Regions from separate parts of the Homo sapiens genome. Here regions 2, 3, 4, 5, 6 and 7 are each linked to region 1. The links are contacts of gene promoters, found by promoter capture Hi-C in human tissues and cell types (Jung and others, 2019). All regions are on one chromosome and are shown on one strand. Each heading gives the region's core, a stretch centred on a gene start or on the middle of the fragment in contact. The rest is flanking DNA. Distances are from core to core; before and after follow the strand shown.

Evidence for each region. Contacts are between HindIII fragments. The study calls those that stand out against the background at their distance.
Region 2: a contact is called between a fragment that was not itself captured here and the fragment with the promoter of KIFC2 in region 1, in 1 of the 25 tissues and cell types used here (lymphoblastoid cells).
Region 3: the fragment with the promoter of COMMD5 here is called in contact with the fragment with the promoter of KIFC2 in region 1 in 2 of the 25 tissues and cell types used here (H1 embryonic stem cells and lymphoblastoid cells).
Region 4: the fragment with the promoter of ZNF7 here is called in contact with the fragment with the promoter of KIFC2 in region 1 in 2 of the 25 tissues and cell types used here (lymphoblastoid cells and spleen).
Region 5: the fragment with the promoter of RPL8 here is called in contact with the fragment with the promoter of KIFC2 in region 1 in 4 of the 25 tissues and cell types used here (IMR-90 fibroblasts, lymphoblastoid cells, mesenchymal stem cells and 1 more).
Region 6: a fragment that was not itself captured here is called in contact with the fragment with the promoter of KIFC2 in region 1 in 2 of the 25 tissues and cell types used here (small bowel and spleen).
Region 7: a contact is called between a fragment that was not itself captured here and the fragment with the promoter of KIFC2 in region 1, in 1 of the 25 tissues and cell types used here (dorsolateral prefrontal cortex).

What each region holds. Positions count from the first base shown.
Region 1 is chr8:144,464,699-144,467,948 of GRCh38, reverse strand. KIFC2 (kinesin family member C2) reads right to left here and starts at 1,612. Exons shown (of 18, transcript NM_001369769.2): 1 at 1,431-1,612; 2 at 1,111-1,189; 3 at 839-990; 4 at 608-746; 5 at 319-464; 6 at 170-235; 7 at 1-90. The coding sequence starts at 1,529. It overlaps TMEM276-ZFTRAF1 (TMEM276-ZFTRAF1 readthrough), which reads left to right and starts at 2,248. Exons shown (of 5, transcript NM_001408018.1): 1 at 2,248-2,378; 2 at 2,853-3,140. The coding sequence starts at 3,048. TMEM276 (transmembrane protein 276) reads left to right here and starts at 2,457. Exons shown (of 3, transcript NM_032687.4): 1 at 2,457-2,596; 2 at 2,853-3,140. The coding sequence starts at 3,048. RefSeq lists enhancers at 619-718, 409-1,245 and silencers at 889-948, 1,019-1,328, 1,379-1,938, 1,999-2,128, 2,199-2,458 and 1 more. The HindIII fragment of the contact is 34,202 bases long and covers 1-3,250 here.
Region 2 is chr8:144,892,108-144,895,357 of GRCh38, reverse strand. All of the region lies in intron 1 of ZNF250 (zinc finger protein 250), which reads left to right. Among named protein-coding and RNA genes, the nearest start is that of ZNF250, 7.7 kb to the left of the region's middle. The HindIII fragment of the contact is 7,783 bases long and covers 1-3,250 here.
Region 3 is chr8:144,851,294-144,854,543 of GRCh38, reverse strand. It overlaps COMMD5 (COMM domain containing 5), which reads left to right and starts at 1,496. Exons shown (of 2, transcript NM_014066.4): 1 at 1,496-1,705; 2 at 3,149-3,250. The coding sequence starts at 3,206. RefSeq lists enhancers at 876-975, 1,526-1,855, 1,433-2,281 and a silencer at 1,266-1,455. The HindIII fragment of the contact is 6,847 bases long and covers 1-3,250 here.
Region 4 is chr8:144,825,920-144,829,169 of GRCh38, reverse strand. It overlaps ZNF7 (zinc finger protein 7), which reads right to left and starts at 1,610. Exons shown (of 5, transcript NM_003416.4): 1 at 1,561-1,610; 2 at 80-127. The coding sequence starts at 82. LOC100130027 (a long non-coding RNA gene) reads left to right here and starts at 2,130. Exons shown (of 5, transcript NR_147501.1): 1 at 2,130-3,250. RefSeq lists enhancers at 381-906, 907-1,432, 1,433-1,958 and a silencer at 1,290-2,419. The HindIII fragment of the contact is 13,991 bases long and covers 1-3,250 here.
Region 5 is chr8:144,790,902-144,794,151 of GRCh38, reverse strand. RPL8 (ribosomal protein L8) reads left to right here and starts at 1,762. Exons shown (of 5, transcript NM_001317782.2): 1 at 1,762-2,160; 2 at 2,238-2,379; 3 at 2,657-2,875. The coding sequence starts at 2,023. It overlaps MIR6850 (microRNA 6850), which reads left to right and starts at 2,161; the gene lies at 2,161-2,221. RefSeq lists enhancers at 1-670, 3,083-3,250 and a silencer at 1,841-2,060. The HindIII fragment of the contact is 17,129 bases long and covers 1-3,250 here.
Region 6 is chr8:144,744,725-144,747,974 of GRCh38, reverse strand. The region is part of intron 4 of ZNF251 (zinc finger protein 251); the gene reads left to right. All of the region lies in intron 1 of LOC107986986 (a long non-coding RNA gene), which reads right to left. Among named protein-coding and RNA genes, the nearest start is that of ZNF251, 9.2 kb to the left of the region's middle. The HindIII fragment of the contact is 9,429 bases long and covers 1-3,250 here.
Region 7 is chr8:144,726,975-144,730,224 of GRCh38, reverse strand. The region is part of intron 4 of ZNF251 (zinc finger protein 251); the gene reads left to right. Among named protein-coding and RNA genes, the nearest start is that of ZNF251, 27 kb to the left of the region's middle. The HindIII fragment of the contact is 6,507 bases long and covers 1-3,250 here.

The DNA.
Region 1 (3,250 bases), core at 363-2,862:
CAGGAGGTCCCGCATGAGACTCAGGCTCTGCTTCAGGGCCTCGTTCTCCAGAGTCAGATGCTGAACCCTTTTCTCTGAGTCCGTCGCCCCCTGGTGGAGAGGAAACCTCGGCACTCACCTGAAGCACCCCCTCCATGCCCGGCCCTGCCAGGTCTCCCTGCAGCCTCACCACGCCCAGGCGCAGTCGACCCAACTCCTCCTCCTGCTGTTCCAGCTGCTGCTTCAGCTCCTCCAGCTGGGGAGAAGTAAGAGAGACAGGGTGGACCTCCTTTTTCTGGCGTCCCAGCCGGCAATCCCTTCTGGCTCCAGGGACCTCACCTGTCCCAGGATGAGCTGCTCCAGCCGCTGCCACGCCCTCTGATCCTCCTCCAACTGGAGGGGCTGCTGTCCCTGGGTCTCATCCCCCAGTGGCTCGCCTGGGACTGCGGTGAAGTGGGAAGGGCTTTCTTCTTGGGATGTGGATCCTGGAGTAGGGTGGGCCCAGTTAGCACTGAAGAGGTCTCTAGTCCAAATCTTCCGGAACATGACCCCGAACTCCAGGCCGCCCAGGTTCTACCGGGATTTGCTCCCTCCAGAGTTCTTCTTCAACTTACTGTCCTTTACTCACCATCTGGAGAGGGGGGCCGGACCCGAGGGGCTGGCTGAGTCCCCTGGAGCAGGGCCTGCCTCCCCCTGGGGCTTCGAAGCCATGCCAGAAGGGCCAAGAGCTGACTGGTCACTGTCAACAGTGAGGGGACCTCGCCAGACTGCGAAGGAGACAAGAATCCGAGCAGGGCTGTGAAAGCCAGGAAGGCCGGGGCAGGTGGTACCTGCCAGCAGCCCCCTCCGCCGCGCTCACCTGGCCCAGGTCCGCCGGGCCCCCGCAGCTCTCTTCCGCCCCCAGCTGGACGGAGAGGAACTCGGCGAGGCGCAGTAGGGCCTCTTCCAGGGACACCGCGGCCGCGCGGCCCTCGGCTGCGCCTTCCGACCCATCCTCAGGCTCGGAGCTGGCTGCCGGTCAGGGAGGAGGGCGGGAGACATTTCGGGTCACGTGCTTGAGCCAGGCCTCCGCCCCTCCCTGGGAGGTCCCGGCACCGCCCTCGCACCGCGGGACTCCCAGCCCGCACCTACCGGCCAGGCCGGTCAGCTCGGTCCACAGCTCTGGCGCGGGCAGGTCTGGGCGCCGGCGACCCCGGGGCTTGCGGGCTCTCTAGGGAGGGGGCAGGGGCGCCCCTGAGGAGGGGGGCAGGCAGCCTGCTGGCCCCTTCCCTCCGCGAACCGGGCCGGAGGATTGGGGCCGAAGTCTACGCTTCCAGCATCGGGGCCGAGCCGAGGGTCCTCGGCACGGCCCCGTCGCCCCGCGCCCCGTGCCCGCCCCCGCCCCGGGAACCTCGGCGTGGGGGTGGGGCAGGCGGCGGGAGACGACGGGCTGCACGGCCAGCCCCGCTCACCTGGGCGGGGTCCCCGGGCTCCGCGGCCGCCGCGGCGCCACCATCCCTGCGGAAGAGGCTGTAGAAGATGTAGATGAGCAACGAGTAAAAGGCGTACATGGGAGCGCGGGGCGGCAGAGGGCCCCGCTTCGCGCCGCCCCGCGTCCCCGCGCCCAGACTCGGCGCCCGCCCGCCGCAGTGCCGGTGCGCATGCTCGCGACGGCCGCCCCCACGGCCCGGCTCCCACGGCTGGAAGGCGAGCGCGGGGACGGGGGTACTAGAAACAGGTGCCCGCGGCCGCACCTGGAGACCCGCCGTTTCTCACGGCGCCGCCCGGCGCGCCCCAACCCCTACACCGCGGACACCGGGCTGAGAGCGCCCACGGCTCCCGCGACCCTCCTCTCGGAATCCCTCCCACCCTCCGCGTAGTCCCCCACCGCTCCGGTTTCGCGGAGCCTTCAACACGCCGGGGTTCTCCTTCCTCTCCCTACAGCCCCGCCCATCTCAGCCCCGCCCATCTCAGCCCCGCCCAGACCCCCCCTCCTCGCAGCCCCGCCCAAACCCCGTTCCTTGCAGCCTCGCCCAGGCTCCTCCCCTCTCGGTCCCTCTCAGTCTCGCCCAGACCCCTCTCCTCGCAGCCCCGCCCAGGCCCCGCCCCTCGCAGCCACGCCCAGACCCCCCCATCGCATCCTCGCCCAGGCCCCGCCCCACCCAGGCCCCCTCCCTCTCAGACCCGCCGCTCTCAGCCCCGCCTAAACCTTATCTCCCTCAGCCCCGCCCAGACCCCCCGCCCCTCGCAGCCCCGCCCAGACCCCGCCCCTCGCAGCCCCGCCCCGGCCCTTCTCCCCTCATCACGCTCCTTCCAAACCACTATGCCCACGCACGCACCCACCCAAACAGAGCGTTTTCTGGTCCCCGAGCTCCTCCCGACCCCACCCGCTCCTACGGCCTCCAACCGGCCCCCCCCAGGTCTCGACCCTCTCCCCCAGGCCTCGACCCTCCCCCCCCAGCCGCTCTAGCCCCGCCCGGCCGCTCTAGCCTCCGCTCCTCTCGCTGGTGGAGGTTCCCGACCGCGCTCGCTCCCGCAACTGGGGGCACGGCAGAGGAGGCAGGGCCGACGGCGGTGGGCGGTGCGTTGCGCAGGCTCGGGCCTCCCGCTCGCCGCTGCGTTGGGACCGCGCAGCCCGGTAACTGCGCACGGCTGGCCTCCCGGAGTCCTGCGCCGTCGCTCCTCCTGGACCCGGGTTCCCAGGACAACGCCTCCCGGAACGCAGGGAGCAGGCCGAGGCCGCCGCGTGGGCCTGCAGCGCCTCGCCGCTCTCTCTTCCCCAGGCCCGCACTCCCACTTGGGCTCCAGGGCCCCAGGGCTGACGTTCCCCCCAGCTTAGACCCTGAGTCGTTTTCCCCCGTTTCCCGGCTGAATTAGGTTCTTCTTCTCCACAGGTGTGTGCAGTGGCCTCAGGGATCCGGAAAGTCTAGGACTGAACTTCTCCTAACATCCAGTAATGGGGACCTGGAACCTGGGCTTACTAGAGTGCCGCGCGTAGGGCTCCAGGTCGCTGGCTTCTGCGCTTCCTTCCTCTCCAAAGTTGAGTATCTCCTATCTGTGTCCTCGTACATACTGCCGCCTGAGGTGCCATGGCCCCCAAGCCGGGGGCCGAGTGGAGCACAGCCCTGTCCCATCTGGTGCTGGGAGTGGTGTCTCTGCACGCAGCCGTGAGCACAGCCGAGGTGAGTACACTGGGGCTGAGCAGGGGCGCATCCCCATACCTCCCAAACCCCAAGGACCTAGTTTCCTGAATTAGAGAGAGGTTGGTGGGAAGTGCGTCTAAGACCAGGTC
Region 2 (3,250 bases), core at 377-2,876, 430 kb before region 1:
ATACCCTTCATGGGCTCGGGGTCATAGTTTACAAAATGAGATTTTCCCCTGCATGCTGGCCCCATGCTGCATTTTCACTCACCCATCTGGTGACCTGACACAACATACATCTTTCTCTTTAGCAGGTGTGTAACTTGTATGTGGAAGGACCAACGTAGCATTTGCCTCAGCAACATCCTTGAATCTGCACCCTCACCCACATCCATTCTTATCAGGTACCCACTATCCAAGGGCCAGTCTGATTTGCCTAAATACTGCTAGGTCGCCTTCTTAAGAGTATGAGAAACTCCACTTTCCCATGCCTGCCAGTTTAAAGTGTTGACTCCGTACTTGGCTATTACAGATGGCATAAAGTGTGAGCTCATTCCTCTTCATTCATTTATTCAACAAACAGGCCGGGTGTGGTGTTCTCAGGCCTGTAATCTTGACACTTTCGGAGGCCAAGGAGGGAGGATCCCTTGAGCCTAGGAGTTCAAGACCAGTCTGGGCAACACAGCAAGACCTCGTCTCTACCAAAAAAAAAAAATTAAGAAATTATCCAGGCATGGTGGTGCAACCTGTATTCCTAGCTACTTGGGATGCTGAAGTGGGAGGATCACCTGAGCCCAGGAGTTGGAGGCTGCATTGAGCTGTGATTGAGCCACTGTACTCCAGCCTGGACTACAAAGTGAGACCCCGTCTCTAAGAAATTAATTAAAAGTTTAAAAAAGTACATTGCCTGGCAATTTGTAATCATTAGCCTAGAAGTAATTAAAAAAAAAAAAAAAAGGTCGACCACTGATTACTCTGTTGGGCCTGCTTCTTGGTCTGCTGGTGCAGGAGAAAGGGATAGGATGAGAGCTGGGTGAGGCCAGGGCTGCTGCGGTGGGTGGGGCAGAGGTCTCTAAGAGTTGGATGGGGAGCACAGGCCAAGGGATAAAGGGCTGCAGGGCTCTGAGGAAAATCACAAAGTTTGGGGCATGCCCATAGGAGCCAGTGGGGTCCTGGGAGGACCTTGGAGCAGAGGACAGTCACTGTGTTCTCACAGGAAGGTAGATGGAGGGGCTGGGCAGACAGACGGTGCTGGGAGTCTGTCTGCCCAGATGGGAGCTGCCGAACATCTAGGGGTGGTTGTCATGGGGCAGGGAGGGCGAGATGGGCAACATGGTCAGGTTCTGGATGTGCTTGGAAGGTGAATAGAAGTGTGGGAGTGAAGAAGGAAGGAGGCTGATGCACAGGCTCACAGACCAAGCTGGGGGTAGAAATGATGGTAGAGGGGGTGCTTGGTTTGGGATGTTAAATGTCTGAGATGCTATGAGACACCCATATTGAAAGGTTGAGTCAGAGGGAAGGGGGATCACGAGCTCAAGTGTACCAAAAGAGCTACTGGGCTCAACTGACTTTTCAGACTCACAGGACAACCATGCCTAGCAGCAGCTTCTCGGAAAAGCTGGCCAGCATCATCCAGCAGCCATCCAGGGAGTACTGAGGTGCATAAACACAAGATGCAGGTAGGAGGAGGAGTTAGCCTAGTCGAAAGCCTCGTGGTCATACAAGCCAGCACCTCCTGTGTCAAGAGAACTGGCTGCAAGACCTGCTAGGGAGGCCCTGAATGTACTTCCTGTGGTTGTTCATCATTGAGTCACAGCCCAGGTGTGATTGGTCCGTAGAGAGAATGACCATCCACCTCTGCCAGGTTTCCAGGGGACCAGAGCTGTGCATTCACCCAAGGTCAAATTCGCATGCAGGGCTAGGCGCAGTGACTCAAGCCTGTAATTCCAGCACTCTAGGAGGCCAAGAGGGGCATATCACTTGAGCTCAGGGGTTCGAGACCAGCCTGGGCAACATGGTGAAACCCCGTACCTACAAAAAGTACAAAAATTAGCCGGGCATGGAGGCAGGTGTCTGTAGTCCCAGCTACTCAGGAGGCTAAGGTAGGAGGATCGCTTGAGCCTGGGAGACGGAGGTTGCAGTGAGCCTAGATCATGCCACTGCACTCCAGCCTGGGTGACAGAGCGAGATTCTGTTTCAAAATAAAGAAATGGCAGATCTGTGCGCTGGTGGGTGACCCATGGAAAGGGTCAGGGTGTGGCAGGAGAGAAGGCACTTCTGCCCTTGAGGGTAGGCAGATGTCAGACAGGGGGACCAGGAGCACATGAGGCCACTGTTAATGCTCACACTTGGTCTTCATCTTAATCCAAAATTGGTTATTGTTGGGCTGGGCGTGGTGGCTCATGCCTGTAATCCCAGCACTTTGGGAGGCCAAGGCGGGTGGATCACCTGAGGTCGGGAGTTCGAGACCAGCCTGACCAAGATGGTGAAAACCCATCTCTACTAAAAATATTTAAAAAATTAGCCGAGCGTGCTGGTGGGTGCTTGTAATCCCAGCTACTCGGGAGGCTGAGGCAGGAGAATTGCTTGAACCTGGGAGGCAGGGGTTGCGGTGAGCCAAGATCACCCCATTGCATCCCAGCCTGGGTGACAGAGCAAGACTTCGTCTCAAAAAAAAAAAAAAATTGGTGGCTGGACACGGTGGCTCACGCCTGTAATCCCAGCACTTTGGGAGGCCAAGGCGGGCGGATCACCTGAGGTCGGGAGTTCAAGACCAGCCTGACCAACATGGAGAAACCCTGTCCCTACTAAAAATACAAAAAAAATTAGCTGGGCATGGTGGCGCATGCCTGTAATCCCAGCTACTTGGGAGGCTGAGACAGGAGAATCACTTGAACCCAGGAGGTGGAGGTTGCGGTGAGCCGAGATCTCGCCGTTGCATTCCAGCCTGGGCAACAAGAGTGAAACTCTGTCTCAAAAAAAAAAACAAACAAAAAAATTGGTTATTGATGTATCCCATCTGGGTACACACAAGTTACTAAAGGAACCACTGATTTCCTGCTGAACTAAAATGTAACATTTTTGTTATCTTCCAATTTCCCACATACCTGTCTGGCTTCATCTGTTCCTCTGTCAACAACTTGTTGGTTTAATTGCAGCGGCTTCCTACCCACCCTTGGCTCTGATTCCTGGCAAGGCAGTCCCCACCCTCTGTTCTTTCCAGTTAAATTCTTGGCTATTCTCTAGCATCCATTCTTCTTATGAATTCTCAAGTAGTTGTAGTCATTCCTTTAAAAGACTTCTGTTGGAATTCTAATTAGAGTTGCATTGCGCTAACACAGAAGTGTGCTCACACACACATTTGGAGGGAATGGGCATTTTTGGAGAACAGCAGCACGGGGGAGGGTTGAAAGTCAGTCTCTCTCCAACTGTGTTTCCC
Region 3 (3,250 bases), core at 247-2,746, 390 kb before region 1:
AGAAATGGAGTCTTGCCATGTTCCCCAGGCTGGTCTCAAATTCCTGAACTGAAGTGGTCCTCACTCTGCCTCTCAAATAGCTGGGACTATAGGTTGCCCTCACCTCCTGCTGTGAGGTCAGTTCCTAACAGGCCACTGACCTGTAGCGGTCCACAGCCTGAGGGTTGGGGACCCCTGCTATAGGTGCACACCACCACACCTGTTTTTTTTTTTAATTTTGTAAAAATGAAGCCTTGATATGTCGCCCAGGCTGGTCTTGAACTCCTAGCCTCAAGTGGTCCTCCCACCTAGTCCTCATAAAGTACTGGGATTGTAGGCATGAGCCACTGCACCCAGTCTCCACTCCTATTTATTATTGAACACTATTCCATTGTATGGCTGATGTGGTTTGCATCTGTGTCCCCGCCCAAACCTCATGCTGAAAGGTAATACCCAATGCTGGAGGTGGAGACTGGTGGGAAGTGATTGGATCGTGGGGGTGGCTTTTCATGAATGGTTTAGTACCATGCCCTTAAGTTATGGTCTCATGATAGAGTTCTCCTGAGATCTGGTTGTCCACCTCCGCCTCCCAAAGTGCTGGGATTACAGGCGTGAGCCACCGCACCCAACCTGTCATTTTTATTATAACCCTTCTAATGGTATGAAATGGCACCTCCCCGTGGCTTCCATTCGCATTTCTCTAATAGCCAACAATGCCGAAGGCTTCATGTACCCATTACCCACTTTGTATCTTCCTTGATGTCTACTCACATCTTCTGCCCATTTAATTAGGTTGTTTCCCTTTTCAGAGTTTTTTTTTTTTTTTTAAGTTTTATTGGGCTATAATTCACATACCATATAATTCACCCATTTTGTACAATTCAATGATTTTGGCATATTATTTTTTAACTATGGTAAAGTACATGTTAAATAAAATGGCTCGGCCATTGTTTCGGACCGAGCTCCTGCGCTAGGGCCCAACAGAGCAGCCCAAAGCGGAACCGAGTCACGCGCGCCGGACGCCACCCGACAGGAGGGGAAACGGGGCAGCTCTCAAAACCCTGGAGGCGCAGACCGTCCACACGGGACAGGGACGCCCGCTCGGCTCCGCTCCGCGCTGATCCTCAAGGTCTCGCGGTTTCCCCGCCGCCCACCCGGACGCCGACGAAAGCCAGCGAGCTCCTCAGCCTCAGGTGACTGGAATTCTGACCCCAGACCACGGGACGCGTTCTCCCGCTTTACCCTCACTCTGCGCGGGCGGGGAGGGAGACGCGGGCGCAGGCCGCAGTTTCTACCTCAGAAACGGAAACACAACACCGCCTTCTTTTTCTTTGGGGAAAGAAAAAAAAAAAACTGTCTAAGACGAGGTCTGGGACCCCGCCGGCGACCCCCGATTCCCCCGGGCGGGGAGGGGGCGGGACCTGGCGCGGCCTCGGCTCCGCCCCTCGGGCCAGCGGACCACAGTGGGGCGGTCATTGCTGCCTTCCTAGAGCGGCCCGGAAGTGGCTCTCAGGGCGCTTCCGGGGACCAGGCCCGCTTTTGGCTGCATCAGCCGGGGATTGCCGGCGCCAGGTGCTGGGGGCGACTCGGACAGCGGGAGCGTGGGGTGGAGTAGGATGGAGTCTCCCTCCCGAGCTGGGGGTGTGGGCCTAGGAAAGGCTGCTTCGCCGCTGTGTTCGGAGAGCTCTGGATACTGCGGGGCTTTTCCGCGGAGGAGCGCCCGCCGGTAGGTTGGCCCCGAACCGTGGGGGCGGCGACGGCCGAGTGCCAATTTGACTCTGTGCACCAAGGTCCCCGCGCCCCGGAACGGGCGACGCCGCGCCCCCATCAGAGCCGCGGGTACGGAGTCAGGGTGCGAACCCGGCCTTCCAAGCCGCGCGACCGGAAGCGGGCAGCTCGGAGGCCTTCCCGGATGGCTCTTTGGAGTGGGAAGGAGCTCCTGGTGCTGGCGGGACGGTGAAGGAGTTGGCAGTGGGTGGTCGTTGACTCCCAGGGAGAATGGGGCGCCGTGAAGCCCGTGGGGAGCTCCTGGGCTCCCCCAGCGCTGTGCAGAGTGGCCTGACAAGTGCCTCGAGGACAGGAGCTGTGCCCCGCTGAGCTCTGCTCCAGTACCTGGTGTGCTGAGGTGGGCACGTGCGTTTCCTCTGGCATAGCAGGTGCTTGTGCTGCTGCACTGCTCCTTCAGGTGCGTCGGAACCCTCTTTAGTTGCCGCACTTGCCTCTGTTGCCAGCCGTTGCTCAGCTCTTCCAGCCCGGGGGTTGGGGCTGTGGTGGAAACAGCTGGGACTTCTGAATAGACAGGTCTAGGCTTCAGTCCTTGACTTTGGCAGCTGTGTTTAGAGCTTTGATTTCTTTTTACTTTTCTTTTCTTCTTCCCTGCCTCCCCTCCCTCCCCCCTCCCTCCATTCGTTCGTTCCTTCCTTCCTTCCTCACAGCATCTCTGTTGTCCAGGCTGGAGTGCAGCGGCTCGATTTCGTCTCACTGCAGCCACGACTTCCTGGGCTCAAGGGATCCTCTGTCCTCTCAGCCTTCTGAGTAGCTGGGACTACAGACGTGCACCACCACGCCTGGCTAGTTTTTTAAATTTTTTGTAGAAACGGGGTCTTGCTATGATGCCCAGGTTGGTCTCCAACTCCTGGGCTCAAGCGATCCGCTGGCCTCACCTTCACAAAGTGCTGAGATTTCAGGCTTGAGCCACTGCACCTGGCCTAGAGCCTTATCTCCCTCTCTGTCAGGTGAGAATGGTAATTCTTCTTGCCCACTGTTGTGAAGGATTCAAGATTGAATAGTTAAATGGTCTCAGTGTGGTCTGTGGCGCCAGCTGCAGTGTCCCTGTGTTCCCCGGACCGTTCCCCTAGTTCATTCTTTCATCTATTAATTTACTTGGAGAACTTGTGCTGTTTCCTGGTCCTCCTCCCTGCCCCCTACTTCTCTGCCAATTCCTGCTTGTCCTTCATGCCTTAGATGTCACTTCCTCTGGGAGGCCTCCGCTCCTCCTGGGACTGACATGGACCCCTCTGCCACCTGCTTCCAGGGCCATCTCCGCAGCACTGACTGTCATTGGTAGTTCACACTGTCAGCATGCTGATGATGGGGACCATATCAACCCTCACTCGCTGGCCCAAAGGATGTGAGAGTCACTGGTCTTCTCTCCTCCACCCCACTCTAGGCATCTGCATCTGGGACCGACCTCCTGGGCTGGCTGATCAAAGAGGAAGCAGCAGCAATGTCTGCTGTGGGGGCTGCAACTCCATACCTGCATCATCCTGGT
Region 4 (3,250 bases), core at 361-2,860, 360 kb before region 1:
GGGCCCAGGGCCAGTGGGCAGAGCAGGAGGTGGGCCTTCACAGGACATGCGAGGGGAAGGAGGCAGTCAAGCTTCCTACCATGAGGCTCAGTGGTGGGTGGGCATCCACGTGTTCTGGCCGAGAGACCTGTTGGCAATTATGAAAGGATTAGAGGTCAAGGTGCCAGAAGCCCAACTTCCAGGCTAATCAAGGGGGTACTGTGCTCTCTGCTCCTTTACCTCCAGCCCCAGATTTCTCTAGCAGGGACATGGGGCTGGGCTGAAGCAGCCATGGCACTTGAGTGAAGGAGGCCCACTGAACTCTTGTTCCTCTTTAGAGTGTATGTGTGTGTGGCATGTGTGACTCACTCCACAAAGCCGTAAGAAGTGGATGCCACGTGCCAGGCACTGAGTAATGGGGATACAGTAGTGGACACGAGGACCCTGCCTTCACGAAGCAGTCTGGCGGAGGAAAGAGTTAAATAACCACACAAATAAGCACACTGCAACCACGACAGCGCTCAAGTACAGGGAACTATGAAAGCCACTTAGACTAGAACGTTCAGTGTAATGGGTCACTTCCCCAGGGACCTCGGCCAAGGTAATGGAGGTGGAGAGAGCACTCCAGGCAGCAGGAATAGCATGTGAAAGGGCCTGAAGCAAGAAGAAATGGGGTTGGATGAACCAGTGTGGGTAAATTCCCGGCAGCAAGGGAAGGCAGTGAGCGACTGGAGGTTGGGGAAGGCAGTGAGCGACTGGAGGTTGGAGAAGGCAGGAGCAAAAATGACAAACTGTAGGGAAGACAAGAGTGGACATGGAAACCCCTGCCCTCAAGTACATAAATTCCAGTCTCCAGCTCACCTGTCGCCAGGATGGAACCAGGCACAGGGATGTAATCTGATATAAATCGTTCACCTCAATTAAGCCAATGACCCCAGACCCTCTACCTGCCCAGGCATTCCCCCGGGAGGTCGGAATGGGAAAAAGAGTCTTCGTATGGCAGCTTCTGGCCCAGAAAGTGGTTTGTGGGTGGAAGCCCCAGGTCACCGGCACAGGTAGGCTGATCCCCCCACCTGGCTCCTGACAGTAGGAATGCCCGGAATAGCAACCAGAATTTAGAGAAGACAAACAGCCTACCCCACCCAAGGCACCGTTCCTTCCTCCACTGTCACTTATCCTAGGCCTTCCGGGGCAATAAATAGAAAGAGAAAAGGCTCTAGAAGGAGGTGATTTCGCAGGAGGAGTCAGGGCCCCGGGAGTAGACCCAGGCCTGAAGAAAAGGCCGCAGCTGGAGCTCGCCTTACTCAGGCCCCGGACACCGTGGCCGCCACGAGCGGGGTCTGCGGGGAGCTGCGAGACTCGGCCAAACGAAGCCCACCTCGCGCCGCCGCGGGGGAGGGTGGCTGGGCTCGACCACCTCCCACACCAGGCGCTCAAGGCCCCGCAAAGCCCCCGCGCTTTCCCGCCTGGAGGCCCGGGGGACGCGGGGACCCCAATGCCGAAGGCGGGAGGGCTAAGGAAGCGACCAGGGATCACTCGGACCGAGGGCAACCCGAGTCCGCGCCCGCCGCGCCGACTCACCCTCCCTGAGGACCACCCGAGGCTCGCAAACGCGCGACGCCGCCGGAAACGGGCCTTGGCCACCCGCGTCCGCCCCGCCCCGCAAACTTCCGGCCGCCCTGGGCCGCTCGGAGGCCCGGCCATCTCTGTGGTTCTCAGCCCCGCCTCCCAGGCTCCGGAGAAGGGGTGGAGTCAGAGCCGAGGAGGGGCGAGGCTGGGGCCCGAGGGACAAGAACCTGGGCGGGACCAGAAGCCCAGATAGGCGGGGCTGGCGCCTGGGGGCGGGGTACAGTCAGAGGCGGGCAGGGGGCGGAGCCGCGAGGGAGAGGAGGGCCCAGAGCCCGGAGTGGGCGGTGCCTGAGCAGGGGCGGGGCGGGGCCGGGGCCTGGAGCTGGGGACGCGGGCCGGGGCCGGGAGTTGCGGACTCGCTGGCGGGTGGGAGGAGCGGAGTCGGGGCGAGGCTGGCGGAGATCCAGGGGATCGCCCGGTTGGGCCCTGCGCACCCCGGATCACCAGCTTCGGGCGCTGGTTCCCACCGAGGCTGTTCAGGCGCCGCTCCCCCGCGTCCCTGCGACAGGAGGCGCCTGCTGGGCGCGCTATGGACCCCGCCTCGCGGAGACGCCTGGCTCGGGCCTTGTCCCCAGTGAGCGGCTGGAGCGGCCGCGGGGTCGCAGAGCCTCCGGGACCCCGAGGAAGGGCGCCCCTCGGAGTTGCCCGAGGCCGGGCCCGGCGTCCACTCGCCACTCGCCTCGCCCCTCCCCGGCCCCGCACCGCCCTCCACCCCGCCTCCTTCGGGTTCCTTCTGCGTCCGGCAGAGCCTGCGCGCCTCCCCCGGACGGCCACGGACTCGCAGCCTCGGCGAGGACGCTGCCTGCGTCCCGACTGCCTGGACCTCCCCGCGTGGCTCCCGGCGAAGCCCAGCAGCCGGAGGGTGCCAGGTCCGCCTGACGCGCCCCTCCCCACGGGAAGAACGGGGCGGGGGTCCAGGAGGGACGTAAGCCGGGCTCCCCCGGCGTGTTGATCCGAACCCGCGCGGGAAAACTTGCGCAAACCAAAGGAGGGAAGAGTCAGGCAGCCCCCAGCCCCCCAGGGAGGCCCAGGTGAAAAACAGACGCCGGCCTCGCCTCTCCCGGTGCGGATGATCCCGGCACTCCCACCCCCGCCCCTGCTGCCCCGAGTTCGGCTCCCTCAGCCCCACATCCTCTCTGGTCATCTAAGTGGACTGCAGCTGCTCAGGGAGCATGTCGCGAAGGATAGGGAAGGACAGGGGGTCTGCTTCCCCAGCCGCCCTCCAGACCCCCAGGGCTGGTAGGGGCCGGCAACCCTATGCCCCAACCTGGCCTGCTGCAGGTGAGGGGGGCACACCAGGGTAACACAGGAGCAGGAGGGGGAGAAAGCCTGGCTAGAGCATCCACCTCATAGGCACCTTCCTTGTGTCCAGGGTGCAGATGCCAGGGCTCTGAGGCCCTGAGGTCCTGTCTGGGGCGAGGGGGCTTCCTCCATCCACTGCATCCACTGCCCGGCTGAGTCTAGAGGCCACTGAGCAAGCAGACCCTCCAAAGCCAGGCACACTCAGGCCCTCACATGGTCACGGTGCTTATGCTCTGGGCCAGCCTGGATTGCTCATCCCTAGCTGAGATTGGGATTCACAGGGTCTTCCAGTTCCCCCTTTTCTTTCTCTACTGATTGAGAAACACAGAGTCCTTTGATT
Region 5 (3,250 bases), core at 513-3,012, 330 kb before region 1:
GCACTGTGTGGGGAGGGACTAATCCTGGCCTAAGAAAGATGGCTCCACCCCAGAAGGCTGGAAAACCCCATGTCCAGTGCTTGCGGCCTCGTCTGGAGTGGCTGTCAAGTGACCCAGAACTGCATAGCCCCTGCTGTGTACCAGGCTGTGTGGTCTCCCGTGAAGGTCAAGACTGAGCCCAGTCACACAGTCCTCAGGACTGTCAGGTGGATGCTGGCAGGGCCATGTCTCTTCCAGCCTTAAAGCGGCCTGGTCAGTCTCCTGGCTGCACGTAGGGTCTTGGTAGCCGCATCTCATCCCAGAGACCCGTGAGACCATCTTGGGGACCCCACAGCCTGTGTGTCCAAGCACTCTTCTCACCTCTATCCCGCACCCAACTCTCCTTCTGCTCCTCCAGAGAAGCAGATTTGTTCAGGAGTGACGGACAGGCTGGGCCTGTGGGCCAATTTTGGGCTGACCCCAGAACCCCTCACCCTGCCCCCAGGGTCCAGTCCTGCCCCTCAGCCCCTGGCCCTAGCTGTGGGCTGTGCTGCTTCCTGAGTCCCCACCGGGCAGCTCCTCCTCCATCCCCCTGCCGACCCTAGGGGAGGGCCTCCTGCAGCAGCCCCTCCTCTCCCCTGTGAGCAACAGCGGGCACAGGACACCCTTCCACCCTCTCCTGTCTCCTTCTCACGATGTCAACCCTGCCTCAGCCCCTGCAGGGTCTAGGAAACACCCCACCTCCCAGTACCGACAGCAAGCCTCTCCCGCCCACTGGGACCCCCGCCTTCACCTCCTTGCTGCCTCCCCACCCACGGCCTCGCGTGTGCTCGACAGTGCTCACTCAGCCAGGGACTCTCTCCTGGAAAACCTCTTCCCCACCATCCCCCACCCGCGGCCTCGGGGTCCCACCCGTTAGGGGCCCGATTCCGCGAAGCCCCTCTCCACAGCACGTACCGCAGGACACCCCCAGTCGGGCTGACTCTTTCCAGCTCAGGCCCCCACAGCCCCTCCCAGCCTCCATTTCTTGCTCCTTCCCCACCTCTCCCGCACAGGGTTCTGGTCAGGGTACGGTCCAGTCTCCCATTATTCGTCCACTCCGCAGCATGTGACCCAGCCCATCCCCGCTCCTTCTTCCTCGACCCGGGACCCTCCAGCTTGGCCCTCCCCACTTCCTGGGCCGGCCGGCCCTCACCCTCGGCAAGGATCCCGGGGCTCCTCTCCTCGACGCCCGACCTCTCCAAGGGCCTACAGTGGATAAGGTCCCCGCGTCCAGAAGCGCCCGTTCATCAGGGAGACGGACATTTGCCACCTGCAAACCATGACGTTCCACGAGTGGGTCCACGCGTCTCCCCTGCCCATCTCCTGCTCTGCACCAGCGAGAACCCCCTCGGCCTACACGGAAGCCCCTCACCAGGCAAGCCGGGAGCCCCAGACCCCGTGGCCCGGAGTGGGTCGCTCTGTGACACCCTGGACAGGTCACTCAACCACTTGGCGCCTCCTCGGCCACTCAGAAAACACCTGCCCTCCCGGAGACCCCGGTGAAAGCCGAGCACTCCTGCACCCTCCTTCCGAGCCCACGCACACCAGGACACCTTCAGCCGCGTCTCCTGGTGCGCCTGCGCGGGGGCCCTGGAGGAGGAGAAGTAGGCGGGGCCGGCGGCCGCTGGTGACTACAAGCCCCGGCGTGCACCGCGCTAGGCTGGCCGTGGCGCGCCCGGAAGGTGTCGCGGCCCTGGGCCCCGCCCCGGAAGATAAGGCCGCTCGCTGACGCCGTGTTTCCTCTTTCGGCCGCGCTGGTGAACAGGTAGGTCATCCTTGCGGCCTTGCGGCATGGGCAGTATCCGCCGCCATCCTCTTCCGTGAGGCGCGCTGAGACCCGGACCGGCCCTCCTGAGAGGATGCCGGTGCGGGCGCCCGCGGAGAGGGTAGGGAGTGGTGGGCGCGGCGGCCTCGGGGGCGGGGTCCCGGAAAGCCGGGCTGGCGGGGGTACCCGGGCCGCCCGGCCGCGCTAATCGTGAGTCGCCCCCAGGACCCGTCGCCATGGGCCGTGTGATCCGTGGACAGAGGAAGGGCGCCGGGTCTGTGTTCCGCGCGCACGTGAAGCACCGTAAAGGCGCTGCGCGCCTGCGCGCCGTGGATTTCGCTGAGCGGCACGGCTACATCAAGGGCATCGTCAAGGTGCGGAACGCTGGCCGGGGCGGGAGGGGAAGGGACGCCCGGCCGGAACGCCGCACTCACGCCGCCTCTGCCCACAGGACATCATCCACGACCCGGGCCGCGGCGCGCCCCTCGCCAAGGTGGTCTTCCGGGATCCGTATCGGTTTAAGAAGCGGACGGAGCTGTTCATTGCCGCCGAGGGCATTCACACGGGCCAGTTTGTGTATTGCGGCAAGAAGGGTTAGCATCGCGGCGGGGAAGGAAGGTCGGGGTGGGGAGGGGTCTGGGTGTTGCCTGAGGAGTTAACGTCCTAAGCCGATATGGGAACCTCGCAGGCAGAAGCTTCAGGTGGGGACATCCGCGTGGCCAGACCAGTGGCCACCGGTGGGTGCCGAGAGAGTTGTACCGGGAGGCTGGATGTTGAATGCTGTGCTCGCAACTTCGCGGGTTGCCTAGAGCGAGGGGGTTCGCATTGTTTCTTACTGTGCTGACGGCCTGATGCTGCTTCCCCTTGCAGCCCAGCTCAACATTGGCAATGTGCTCCCTGTGGGCACCATGCCTGAGGGTACAATCGTGTGCTGCCTGGAGGAGAAGCCTGGAGACCGTGGCAAGCTGGCCCGGGCATCAGGGAACTATGCCACCGTTATCTCCCACAACCCTGAGACCAAGAAGACCCGTGTGAAGCTGCCCTCCGGCTCCAAGAAGGTTATCTCCTCAGCCAACAGAGCTGTGGTTGGTGAGTATCAGGCAGCAGTTGAATGCTGAGGGCTGTGGGTGAACATGCTGTGAGTGCCGGTGGACAGCCAGTGGCTAGACTTGGTCCCTGGAATTCGATTACCTGTTGTTCTAAAACTTGGGTTCTGTAAGTTTGAGCTCATCCTGTAGTCTCAGTTGTCATCACTGTACAACAGGCACAACAGTACCTGCTTTACTGCTGTTGAGGCGTTAAATGAGATTGGGACGAAGTCACCAGGGTCTTGGATTCTACCGTGGGCTTCCTGATTGCTGCACTTGCATGCAGTTGGTTAACAGCCTTTTTAGAGAAGGCAGGGAGAGATTGTGGCTTTCTCAAAGACGCCTACTGAGTGAGTGAAAAAGGATTTGAGTCTAG
Region 6 (3,250 bases), core at 287-2,786, 280 kb before region 1:
TCACGTCACTGCGCTCCAGGCTGGGCAACTGAGTGAGACACTATCTCTAAAAACCACAAAACCAGCTGGACACGGTGGCTCACGCCTGTAATCCCAGCACTTTGGGAGGCCGAGGCGGGTGGATCACCTGAGGTCAGGAGTTCGAGACCAGCCTGACCAACATGGAGAAACCCCATCTCTACTAAAAATACAAAATTAGCCGGGCGTGGTGGCTCATGCCTGTAATCTCAGCTACTCGGGAGGCTGAGGCAGGAGAATTGCTTGAACCCAGGAGGCAGAGGTTGCAGTCAGCCGAGATTCGCGCCATCGCACTCCAGCCTGGGCAACAGAGCGAGACTCCGTCTCAAAAAACAACAACAACAAAATATGTGATGCGAAAACTGATAGAACTACAAGGGGAAATAGATGAGTTCACTGTCTGCAGTTGGAGATCCAGCACCCTCTATCGTAAATGGACAGATCCAGCAGGATGCAGTTGAGTTTAACAGCACCATCACATCAGTCAGCTGGGAATAATTTACATCTGTAGACTGCTTCATCCAACGATAGCAGAATGCACATTCCTGCCAAGCTCATGTGGAACATTCACTAAGATAGACCACATTCTGGGCCACAAAACACTTTAACATACTTGAAGAATAGAAAACATAGAATGTCTATTCTCAGACCACAATGACATGAAACTAGAAATGAAACCAGAAAGATAGCTAGAAAATCCTAAAGTACTTGGCAAATAACACACTTCCAAATAACACGAGTCAAAGAAGATATCTCAAGATAAATTTTAGAATATTTTGAATTAAGTGAAAATGAAAATAAAACTTACCAAAATTTGTGGAATGCTGTGAATGCAGTGCTTAGAGGGAAATTTATAGCATTGACTGCATGTATTAGAAAATGGGAAAGATCTAAAATCATAATGTAAGCTTTCACTCTAGGAAACTAGAAAAAGAAGAGCAAATTAAATACAAAGTAAGCAGAAGAAAAGAAATAAAAATTCAAGCAGAAATCAATGAAATGGAAAACAGGAAATCAATAGAGAAAATCAACGAAACCAGAAGATGGTTTGAAAAAACAATAAAATCAGTAAACCTTTAGCCAGACTAAGACAAAGAAGAGAGAGGACACAAAATACTAATATCAAATGAAAGAGGGAACATCACTACAGAGATGTCCCACAGACTTTTAAAGGGTAATAAAAAAAAAAAGATGAACAACTCTGTGCCCAAATTTGATAAATGAACCAATTCCTTGAAGTACACAATCTCCCAAACACGGGAAGAAATAGACAATCTGAATAGGGCTATGTCTGTTAAATAAGTCAAATCAACAATTACCTTCCAAAATAGAATCCACTGGGCTCAGATGGGTTCACTTATGACTTCTACCAAACATTTAAGGAAGAAATTATACCAGTTCTCTATAATCTCTTCCAGAAAATAAAAACAGAGGGAATACTTCCTAACTCATATGAGGTCAGTGTTATCCACCCAAATGCCAAAACCAAACAGACATTACAAGAAAAGGAAACTACAGACAGACACCTCTTATGAACATAAATGCAAAAATCCCAACAAAATATTAGCAAATCAAATCCAACAATGTATAAAAAGAATTATATACCATGACCAAGTGGGATTTGTCCCAGGTTTACAAGGCTGGTCCAACATTAGGAAATAAATTAATGTAATGTGATGTACCACATCAACAGGCTGAAGAAAGATCATGTGGTCATATCAGTAGATGCGGAGAAAGCATTTGACAAAATCCAACCTCGATTCATGATTACAAATTCAACAAACTAGGAATAGAGAGGAACTTCCTCAAGTTGATAGAGAGCATCTACAGAAAATCTACATTTTCCTTTATACTGGCAACGAAGAAGTGGAATTTGAAGTTAAAAACACATTATTTACATTAGCACCACTAAAGATAAAATACTGAGGTGTAAGTCTAACAAAATATGTACAAAATCTGTGAGGAAAAATACAAGACTGATAAAAATATATCAAAGAAGAGCTAAATAAATGAAGAGATAGTCTGTTCATGAGGAAAACTCAGTATTATCATGATGTCAGTCCTCTGCTTGATTTACAGATTCAACACAATCTCAATCACAGTCTCAGGGGCTAAGTGTGGTGGTTTATGCCTATAATCCAGCACTTTGGGAGGCTAAGGCAGGAGGATCGCTTAAGCCCAGGAGTTTAAGACCAGCCTAGGCAACATAGTGAGACCCCATATCTACAAAAAAATTTTTTTTGTTAGCTAGGCCTGGTGGCATGTGCCTATATTCCCAGCTATTTGGGAGGCTGAGGTGGGAGGACTGCTTGAGCCTAGGAGTCTGAGGTTTCAGTAAGTTATGATCATGCCACTGTATTCCAGCCTGGCTGACAGAGCAAGACCCTGTCTCTAAAAAACGAAAAAAACTCAGCAGGTTATTCTGTGGATATTAGCAAACTGATTGTAATGTTTATAAGGAGAGGTAAAAGACCCAGAATAGTCAACTCAATATTGAAAGAGAAGAGCAAGGTTGGAGGACCCATAGTACCCAATTTCAGTACTTTTACTATAAAGCCACAGTAATCAAGGCAGTGTGGTATTGGTCAAAAAACAGAAAAAATAGATCAATGAAACAGAACAGAGAGCCCAGATAAAAACCTGCATAAACATATGCAACTGATCTTTGACAAGGGAACAAACACACCTCAATGTAGAAAGGATGATCTTTTCAAGAAATGGTGCTGGAATAACTGAACATCCACGTGCCAAAAAAAAAAAAAAAAAAAGAATCTAGACACCCATCACAAAAAATTAACTTAAAATGTGTCTTATTCTGCTCAGACTTAAAACCACAAGCTGAGTGCTTAAAACAGTAACTTTCCTCCGCTCCCCTTCCCCTCCCGCTCCCCGTCCCCCTCCATATGGAGTCTCGTTCTGGTCACCCAGGCTGGGGTGCTGTAGCACAATCTCTGCTCACTGCAACCTCCACCTCCTGGGTTCAAGTGATTCTCCTGCCTCAGCCTCCCTAGTAGCTGGGATTACAGGCGCCCGCCACCACGCCCAGCTGGTTTTTGTACTTTTAGTAGAGATGGGGTTTTGCCATGTTGGCCATGCTGGTCTCGAACTGCTGACCTCAGGTGATCCGCCCGCCTCGGCTTCCCAAAGTGCTGGGATTACAGACATGAGCCACTGCGCCCGGCCTTATTTTCTTACAGTTCTGGAGGCTACACGTCCGAGATCAGTGTGTTAG
Region 7 (3,250 bases), core at 202-2,701, 260 kb before region 1:
GTCCAGGGATTGGCGCTCTGGGCCCCGCGCCTGGAGGGGCTTTAGGCCCGGTGGATAAAACATGGCTCTCCACTTCCCTGTTTGGTTCCTGAGTTCTCTTTTGGCACTTTTCAGCCGACTCTGGTGATGTACGAAGGGAGAGGCACTGCTGGGCCTGCCATACAGCTGCACAGTGAGTGAGCGGCCTCGAGTTGGTGGGTGAGGGCACCCGCTCCTGGGAACAACGCCAGCCCTGGGTGGGCTCAGCCCTGCCTGCAATGTTGAGAAACTGTTACAATTGAACATCTTTATCTGAGTAGTCACAAAAAACACATGTAACCTGTTGATAGCCTGATGAGAGATCTGTTTTGGTTTTGGTTCTTCAGAGACAGGGTCTCACTCTGCTGCCCAGGCTGGAGTGCGGAGGTGCGGTCTCAGCTCACTGCAGCCTCCACCTCGTGGGCTCAAGCTCTCCTCTCATTTCAGCCTCCCAAAGTGCGGGGATCACAGGCGCGAGCCACCATGCCCATCCCAAGAGATCTATTTTTAAGCGGGCAGTTACGTTGATATGAGACATCAGGGAGGACCCTGGCATTTAAAAGGAATCTTAGGCCGGGTGCGGTAGCTCACGCCTGTGATCCCAGCACTTTGGGAGGCCGAGGCGGGTGGATGGCGAGGTCAGGAGATCGAGACCATCCTGGTTAACACAGTGAAACCCCGTCTCTACTAAAAATACAAAAAATTAGCCGGGCGTGGTGGCGGGCGCCTGTAGTCCCAGCTACTCGGGAGGCTGAGGCAGGAGAATGGCGTGAACCCGGGAGGCGGAGCTTGCAGTGAGCCGAGATTGCGCCACTGCACTCCAGCCTGGGCGACAGAGCAAGACTCTATCTCACAAAAAAAAAAAAAAAAATAAAAATAAATAAATAAAAGGAATCTTATATGCTTGCTAAAAGGGCACTACGCATGGAGAAAATGACATAAAATTTTGTTTTCGTTTTTATCCCAATTTTTCTTTTGACTTTTATAACCAGGAGCTTTAGGAGTAAACTCGTATTTTTAAATTTTAACATGAATATAGGTCAGGCACACTTCATTTTATTCCACTTCACTTTGTTGTGGCTTTGCAGATACTGCTGCTTTTTTTTTTTTTTTTTTTCCATAGATGGAGTCTTGCTCGTCGCCCAGGCTGGAGTGCAATGGCGCGATCTCAGCTCACTGCAACCTCCGCCTCCCAGGTTCTAGTGATTCTCCTGCCTCAGCCTCCCAAGTAGCTGGGATTACAGGCGCGCGCCACCATGCCTGGCTAATTTTGTATTTTTAGTAGAGACAGGGTTTCACCATGTTGGCCAGGATGGTCTCAAACTTCTGACCTCAGGTGATCTGCCCCCCTGGGCCTCCAAACTGTTGGGATTACAAGTGCGAGCCACTGCGCCTGGCGAACATTTTTTTTTACAAATTGAAGGTTTGTGACGACCTTGTGTTGAGCAAGTCTGTCAGTGCCATTTTCAACAGCACGTGCTCACTTCTTTGTGTCACATTTTGGTAATTCTTGCAGTATTTCAAACCTTTTTTTTTTTTTTTTTGAGACGGAGCCTTGCTCTGTCGCCCAGACTGGAGTGCAGTGGCGCGATCTCGGCTCACTGCAAGCTCCGCCTCCCGGGTTCATGCTATTCTCCTGCCTCAGCCTCCCGGGTAGCTGGGACTACAGGCGCCCACCACCACGCCCGGCTAATTTTTTGTATTTTTAGTAGAGATGAGGTTTCACCATGTTAGCCAGGATGGTCTCGATCTCCTGACCTCGTGATCCGCCCGTCTCGGCCTCCCAAGGTGCTGGGATTGCAGGCATGAGCTACTGCGCCTGGCCTCAAACCTTTTTTTTATATCTGTTATGGTGCTCTGTGATCTGCGATCTTTAATGTTGCTATTGTAATTGTTTCAAGGGCACCATGAACTCTGCCTGTATGAGACGGTGAGCTTAATCGATGAGTGTTGGCTGTCCTGACCCACTGATCAGCCATTCCCTACCTCCCTCTCTCTCTCCTAGGGCCTCCATATTCCCTGAGACTCAGCAATATCGAAACTAGGCCAATTAATAACCCTGGAATGGCCTATAAGTGTTCAAATGAAAGGAAGAGTCACACACCTCTCGCTTTATTGCAAATGTTAGAAATGACCAAGTTTAGTAAGGAAGGTGCGGTGAAAACTGAGACAGGCCAAAGCCAGGCCTTTTGCGTCTGTTAGCTAAGTTGTGAATGCAAAGCAAAACTTCTTCAGGCGTGGTGGATCAAGCCTGTAGTCCCAGCTTCTCAGGAGGCTGAGACAGGAGGATCGCTTGAGCCCAGGAGTTTGAGGCTGCAGTGAGCTATGATCACACCACTGCACTCCAGCCTGGGTGACAGAGTGAGACCCTGTCTCAAAAAGAAAATAACAGTAAAAAGTAAAGTTCTTGAAGGAAATTGGGAGTGCTATTCTGGTGAACATATGAATGACAAGAAGGTACAGCAGCCTTATTGCTGATATGGAGACAGTTTCAGTCCCCCTCAAACTGTCTGGATAGAAGATCAAACCAGACACATTCCCTTAAGCCAAAGCTTCGCCTCAAGAGCAAGGCCCCAACTCTCTTCAATTATGCGAAAGCTGAGAGGGGTAAGGAAGCTGCAGAAGAAAACCTTGAAGCTGGCAGAGGTTGGTTCATGAGGGTTAAGGAAAGACGTAGTCTCCATAACAAAAGCACAAGGTGAAGCAGCCACTGCTGATGGAGAAGCTGCAGCACGTTGTCCAGAAGACCTAGCTAAGATGATTGATGAAGGTGGCTACACTGAATAATAGATTTTCAGTGTAGACAAAACAGCCTTCTATTGCAAGAAGATGCCATCTAGGACTCCCATAGCTAGAGAGAAGGCAATGCCTGGCTTCAAAGCTTCAAAGGACAGGCTGCCTCTCTTGTTAGGGACTATGTACACAAATTGTATTGTTTATTGAATGTTTACAAATCAGACCCAGCCATGGAACCGGCACAGATTAGGAAACAAAGCATTATCAGCTCTACAGAAGCCTAGTGGTGTCCCTGCCAGGCACTACTGCCCCAGGGATAATCACTGAGTTTTGCTTGGTTTTGAACTTTTTATAAATGGAATTTTACAGCATACACTCTTCAATGTTTGGGTTCTTTCACTAAAAAAAATTTTTTTTCAGAGACAGGGCGTCCCTCTGTTGCCCATACTGGAGTGCAGTGGCACCATCATAACTGACTAATGTCAAACTCCTGGGC